2 separate regions of the Homo sapiens genome follow, and region 2 is linked to region 1. Evidence: promoter capture Hi-C in human tissues and cell types (Jung and others, 2019). All regions are on one chromosome and are shown on one strand. Each heading gives the region's core, a stretch centred on a gene start or on the middle of the fragment in contact. The rest is flanking DNA. Distances are from core to core; before and after follow the strand shown.

The links. The method cuts DNA at HindIII sites, captures the fragments that hold promoters and counts their contacts. A contact is called where the count stands out against the background at its distance.
Region 2: a contact is called between a fragment that was not itself captured here and the fragment with the promoter of SECISBP2L in region 1, in 1 of the 25 tissues and cell types used here (hippocampus).

Annotation. Positions count from the first base shown.
Region 1 is chr15:49,044,883-49,048,024 of GRCh38, reverse strand. SECISBP2L (SECIS binding protein 2 like) reads left to right here and starts at 1,579. Exons shown (of 18, transcript NM_001193489.2): 1 at 1,579-1,749. The coding sequence starts at 1,726. RefSeq lists enhancers at 1,113-1,242, 1,343-1,692, 1,983-2,122. The HindIII fragment of the contact is 5,737 bases long and covers 1-2,610 here.
Region 2 is chr15:48,898,691-48,902,057 of GRCh38, reverse strand. All of the region lies in intron 2 of SHC4 (SHC adaptor protein 4), which reads left to right. Among named protein-coding and RNA genes, the nearest start is that of EID1, 22 kb to the right of the region's middle. The HindIII fragment of the contact is 7,421 bases long and covers 1-3,367 here.

The DNA of each region.
Region 1 (3,142 bases), core at 330-2,829:
CAGGTTGAATGTCCCTTATTTTGACATACTTGAAACCATAAGTGTTTCAGATTTTGGATTTTGGAAGATTTGCATTATACTTACTGGTTGAGCATCTCTAAACTGGAAGTCCAAAATCTGAAATGTTCCAGCGAACATTATCCTTAAATGTCATGTCTGTGCTCAGAAAGTTTCTAATTTTGGAACATTTGGGATTCAAGAGGGTTTGGAATTTCATAGTTTCCATTAGAGATACCCAACCTGTATCAACATAAGTACAGCAAGGGGCCTTCACATAACAAGCCTCATATTGGAGTCTAATAACCAGACTAATAACCTAGACTAACTGAAAAGGCAATTAGTCTTTACTGATATCTCCTGAAGCATGACAAAGCAAATTTCTTAAAATCTCTTTCCCATTCCTAGCTGTGGATCTCCACACCAGTGCCCCAAACAGCAGCCACCTCAACTCTACCTTCACTTAAGTGTAATTTAGCTTATACAGTTGTCCCTAAGTATCCCAGGGGGGATATTGGCTCCAGGATCCCTGCTGATACCAAAATCCATGAGTGCTAAAGATCCTTATATAAAATGGTGTAGTATTTGCATACAATCCATGCATATCCTCCGATATACTTTAAATCATCTCTAGATTACTTATAATACCTAATACAATGTAAATGCTGTATAAGCAGTTGTTAAACTGTATTACTTGTATTTTATTGTTGTACTTGATATTTCTTTTTTCCTCAAAATATTTCTATCCGCAGTTGGTTGAATCTTCACAGAGGGTGTGGGTGTTGGAGGGTGTGTCTGAGGAGATGCCCAGAAGAAATTTGCCATGCTAACGGTAGTGCCCAGTTTCAAGACAGTCTCTGCCCTTAAGGAGCTAAGGATCTGAAGATAAAATAATTACCCGTTGGGTGGTGTTATACAGATCCTGCATAAAATTAGGATTTCTGAGATGGGCGAGGTCAGCCTGGATGTGAGCCTAGAAGTGGGCATGAACCTGGATAATGAATTAACTCTCAATAAATATTTGTGGGGAGCTTCCTAGCGGGCCTCTTCCAGTCATTCTGTGTATGCGTTTTACATATGCATTTTTCTAGGGCAAGACTCCATTATTTTCAGAATATTCTCATTCCTTTATAGTCATGACTCCCTTTATTTGCGTAACATAAGGAAGGAGCAGATGTACGGTGGGCAGATGAAAGCTTTTCCAACATCACTAAGAGGTGGTTTCAGATCCTGAAGAGGTCTTTGAAGTCCCGGGAGACCTGGGTCCCAAGTGGTCTGACACTTCTCGTTTAACAGTCGCAGGGGTGGCGTGTGGTTCGGGGCACCTGCTCCTGGGCGCCTCCACCTGGCCTTAGCCTCCAGGCCAGGCCGGGTTCCTCCTACCCTTGCTGAGGCCATTTGCTGTCACTCCGCCCACTGCCCCTCTCTGCCTCCTCCCCACTCCTTTTCCTTCCGTGCGCCTCCATTTCTAACTACGCCTCCAGCCCATTCGGGCCCTCCTCGGCTTCCGTCCCAGATGATCCCTCCCCGAAGCTGCCACCGCCTCCTCCATCTCCCGGAGCTGGAGCCGCCTCCTCGGCCAGTGGCGTAGCCGAATCGGTGTCGCGGCCAGCCAGATAGGGGCGGAGGTCCGGAACCCAGTCTGGACCCGAGCGGGGGGCCATGGAGAAAGCGGCCCGAGGCGCTGTTTACACCGACTAGCGCGGGCCCGTTGCGGCTGCAGGCACCATGGACCGAGCCCCCACGGAGCAGGTACGCGGGTTTGGGCTGGGCCCGCCGAGCCGGGGGTTGGGGTCGCCGCTTCCTCACAGGCCAGGCCCAGTTCTCCGAACGTGGGGACCGGGGGCCGGTCCTGCGGCCGCAGACCCCCTCACCTGGGAGCCTGGCAGCTCCCAGCTCTCCTTCATTGTTCCAGCTGCTGCCTGGGACTTGGGGGCTTTTCCAACCCTGATTACTTCCCAGGCGGAGGGCTCGCCGTTGCCGCTTCTCCCCTGCTTGGTGAAGGGGTCAGAAGGCTCCAAGTTGTCCCTGCTCTCCTGGGAGGAGGGCTTATAACTTCTAGTAGTCTCCCCGCTTCCCCCATTCCCTTCAGCTCTGGAATGTGTTTTCAAGGTGGAAAGGCGTTTGAAGGCTTCTCACCCAGAAAGACTGTAAGAGAATGTGTGGTAACTACAGATGAAGGGAAGTCACGGGCCTTTTAGGTCTGTGTTCAATGGAGCGAAGCATTGTTTTTGCAGTGGTTTTACGGAGGTGTTTCTTTTAAGAAACGATACTACGATTTCCCCTTGTCCTTTTATCCAGTTATTTTGCAAAGAATTGTAATTAGTGGGTTTTTTTTTAAAGCTAGCTCTATTTTAAGGGTGTAAAGCATAAGCTTATTTTCGAACCCGTTTTCATATTCGCAAAGTAGTCCTATTAGTGTTCTGTTTTATTTTTATTTGCATCAAATTCCTGATTATGCATGCTAGTAGGTGGTAGCAGGCAGGGATGATAACAGTGTTAAAAGTAATCGAAAACAATAGTTTCCCCCCCAGTATTTTCCACTCTTAAGATCTCTGCGAAACGACTTAATTTGAAGTCCAAGTTTATTCACTCTCTATTCCCTTCTTCGAAGGCCTTGCCCATTGATGACTAGATGACGGAAGAAGAGAGGCTAGTAATTTCTGCCTATTAATTTTACAGTTGGATAATTAGCACCTGAATTAATGAGATAAGATTTCCCAAATTCCTGTATGTGTCTATATGTAGTTGAAGCCGGTTTGTATTTTGAAATCGGACTCTTAGCAGGCAAAGCACAGCTTCCTAGTTGTGTATACTTGTTTTTACAGAAGACTTTTTTTTTTAAAAAAAAGCTTTATGTGAATGTAACTCTGAAGACACAAATGAGTTTTATAAAACAATACATGGAATTACCAAAGAGAAATTGATACAGAGTCTCTTGGCAAATACACTTAGGCATTTATGTGACCCAGAAGTATTCTGTATACAGCCTGTATCTAGTTTAATTTAAAAACATTTTTGAAGGTATCTATCATAAATACCTGAGATTTCAAAGCCTGACAAATGAATACGAATTTTCCTTGAATCATTTCCTTGTATGTGTGTTACTAATGAAAGGGTTCAACATTTTGTTCCTTCACTAGGA
Region 2 (3,367 bases), core at 658-3,157, 150 kb after region 1:
GCTAACTTTTGTATTTTTTGTAGAGACAGGGTTTTGCCATGTTGCACAGTCTGCTCTCAAACTCCTGAGCTCAGGCAATCTGCCTGTCTCGGCCTCCCAAAGTGCTGGGATTACAGGCATGAGCCACTGCACCCGGCCTAGACCCAGTTCTTAAAGTAGATAGCCATTATAAGGATAAAGCAATAATAATGGCTAGCATTTACTGAGGTACTGTTCAAAGCACTATTATTATTCTTACTTTTTATATTTAAGGAATTGAGACATAGAGAGCTTTAAAAACTTGTTCAGGGTGACAGAGATTGTAAGAGACAGCTAGATTTTGAACTCTGGCTAACTGCAGAGTCTACCTGACTAGCTTTTCCTCACTTTCTATTATCATTAGAAAGTAGAGTTATAGATAAAGCCATCAAATTTTAACAGTTACTATAATTTTGCACTTTTGTTTATTTCTGTATTGCTTGCCCAAACACTTTGCACTGTTTCATGTACATAGTATCACTTAATGAAGGTTAGATGATAATTAAAAGGAAAAAATAATTTGTTTCCATCTGCCTCTACTGAGTGCTGTTAGAATAAAAGAATGGAAAAACAATAATTTACAGCGTAAAGGGAGTCCCATAATTCTTATACTGACATAGGGAAAGACCCCTTTCTTATAATACCCAACTTCCTGTACCAAGAAACCGAACAAGACAAAGTTCAAAATATGTATAAACAATCCTTGCAAAAGATTACACTCTAATAAGCTTTGCACCATGCACAAGCTAATAACTGACCACGACCCCAAAGCCTCTTACATTTGTTTCCGGTTTGCTTTAGAGCAAGAGTCAGAGAACAACAGCCTGCAGGCCAAATCCCACCTGCTACCTGATTTCGATTTTGCCACCTTGTCAGCCAAGAATGGTTTTGACAATTTTTAAATGGTTGGAAAAAACACCCCAAAAGAATATTTTGTGACACATGAAAATCATATGGAATTCAAATTTCAGTGTCCATAAGTGTTACTGGCACACAAGCACATCCATTTGTTTATGGATTGCCTATGGCTGTTTTTCTAGCTACAACAGCAGAATTGAGTAGCTGTAACAGAAACTATATAACCTGCAAAGGCTAAAATATTTCCTACCTGGCCCTTTTCAGAAAAAGTTTGCCAACTGCTGCTAGAGTGATTCTCAACCTTAGCCTTGTTGGAAGCATTTGGAAGAGATCTTAAAACTTCTGACCCCCAAGCCCTGTCCGGCACCAATTAATTCAGAATCTCTGGAGCTGAGACCCAGTCTTCAGAACTTCGTAAAATTCTTGGTGGTGTAGTCCAATGTGCAGCCAAGGCTGAGAACCACTGCCTAGAGTGTTGAATGCATTTTAGGGGCAAATAGATTAGATCTTGCTGCCTCCAGGATGACCTTGCTGCCTCCAGATAAGAGAGAGAATGCAGGCCACTCTCTCACTGCTTGTGTGTGCAAAGGGTGATGTAAGCAAAGATGTTCAGGACCTCCATGTGCCCTCTGGTAAAAGCCCTTCTTCTTCTTCTTTTTTTCTTTTTTTTTTTTTGAGTTGGAATCTCACTCTGTAGCCCAGGCAGGAGTGCAGTAGCACGATCTCAGCTTACTGCAACCTCCACCTCCCAGGTTCAAGAGATTCTCCTGCCTCAGCCTCCCAAGTAGCTAGGACTACAGGTGCCCACCACCACTTCCGGCTACTTTTGTATTTTTAGTAGAGATGGGGTTTCACTATGTTGGCCAGGCTGGTCTTGAACTCCTGACCTCAGGTCATCCTCCCACCTAGCCCTTCCAAAGTGCTGGGATTACAGGTGTGAGCCACTGCGCCCAGCCATAAAGCCCTTCTTCTTTAGGAGATGAGAATGGGGGAGGCAGAGAGGAGAAGAGAGGATTATACCAAATATCTATCCCAGAATATAGAGTGACTACATTGAAAACAAAATTCCCCAGAACGGAATATCATCAAACGTATAGACAGTGTAACCTTCCCTAGCCTAGCCTCTAGGAAGAGGTGACCTCATTCCTTAACACGCACTAACACAACCATCTGGTCTAAGCTATAGAGCACAGAACCTGTTACTCAATGCAACGAGTCCAAGTAGGTTTAATCAGCTGTGTGGTTCATGAACTCTGTGTCAGAATCACTTGGAAGGTTTGTTAAGCTGTAGATTCCTAGGCCTCACCTCAGAATCAAAACCTCTAGGAACAGTCCTAGAAATCTGTATTTTAACCAGCACCCAGTTGATTCTTAAGAACTTTACAGTTTGATCACCACTTACCTAAATGGTGTACTCTCTGTGGATGTGCAAGCTGAAGTTGTCCTACTATTATTTGTCAAGGTGGATTAACTTGGTAGGCCAGTTGTTCGTTCCTTCCAGAGGTGCACACACATTTAAAAAAATGGAATTCCCAAAAAAATTTACAACATATTTGCCAAATAGCCTTTAAAAGAACCAGAGTTATTTAAAAAAAAAAACAGTGGTAGAAGTAATATATTCATTACACCAATTGCTGTCTTGCTCAGTAATATAGACACCTGTATGACAAACTGTTTTACTGTTTGTTTATTTATTTATTCATTTATTTATTTATTGAGACGGAGGGTTGCTCTGTCACCCAGGTTGTAGTGCAATGGCACAATCTTGGCTCACTGCAACCTCCACCTCCCGGTTCAAGCAATTCTCCTGCCTCAGCCTCCCTAATAGCTGGGATTACAGATGTGCACCACCATGCCCAGCTAATTTTTGTATTTTTACTAGAGATGGGGTTTCACGATGTTGGCCAGGCTGGTCTCAAACTCTTGACCTCAAGTGATCCGCCTACCTTGGCCTCCCAAAGTACAAAGATTACAGGTGTGAGCCACCACACCTGGCCAAACTGTTTTAAATATCTTTAAAATTCCAAGTATTCTCTGAAGAATTTTTGGAAGTAGATATACATTGCTTAGAGTGAGCTTGAGTGAATAAAGTGGGTGACTAAGTAAGACCTGTTTTCGGTTTTTTTTTTTTTTTTTTCTAAATGAGCTTTGGCTTTTAAGTGACCACATTATGCATCAGTGCACTCTTTAACTCCAAAAGACACACCTTCATAATATTTTGAATATTTTGTCAAAAACAAAGTTGTTTTAAAGAAGCCCAGTTTACCCTAAAGGAGAACAATCTTTTGAATTTATAAATTCCCATGTATTTTATATGAAACCAACTCTATTTCTTATTGTCATTTCTTTAACCACTTATAAAGCCTATAAGCCATCAGTTTGTGGGTGTAGGTGTTTGAATTTTGAGATACATGATTGTATTACAGGAAATCTCTGTGGGGACAGGAAAAAACCAGCACTTAATGTCCGTTAACTAGTGAGAGTTATAGGG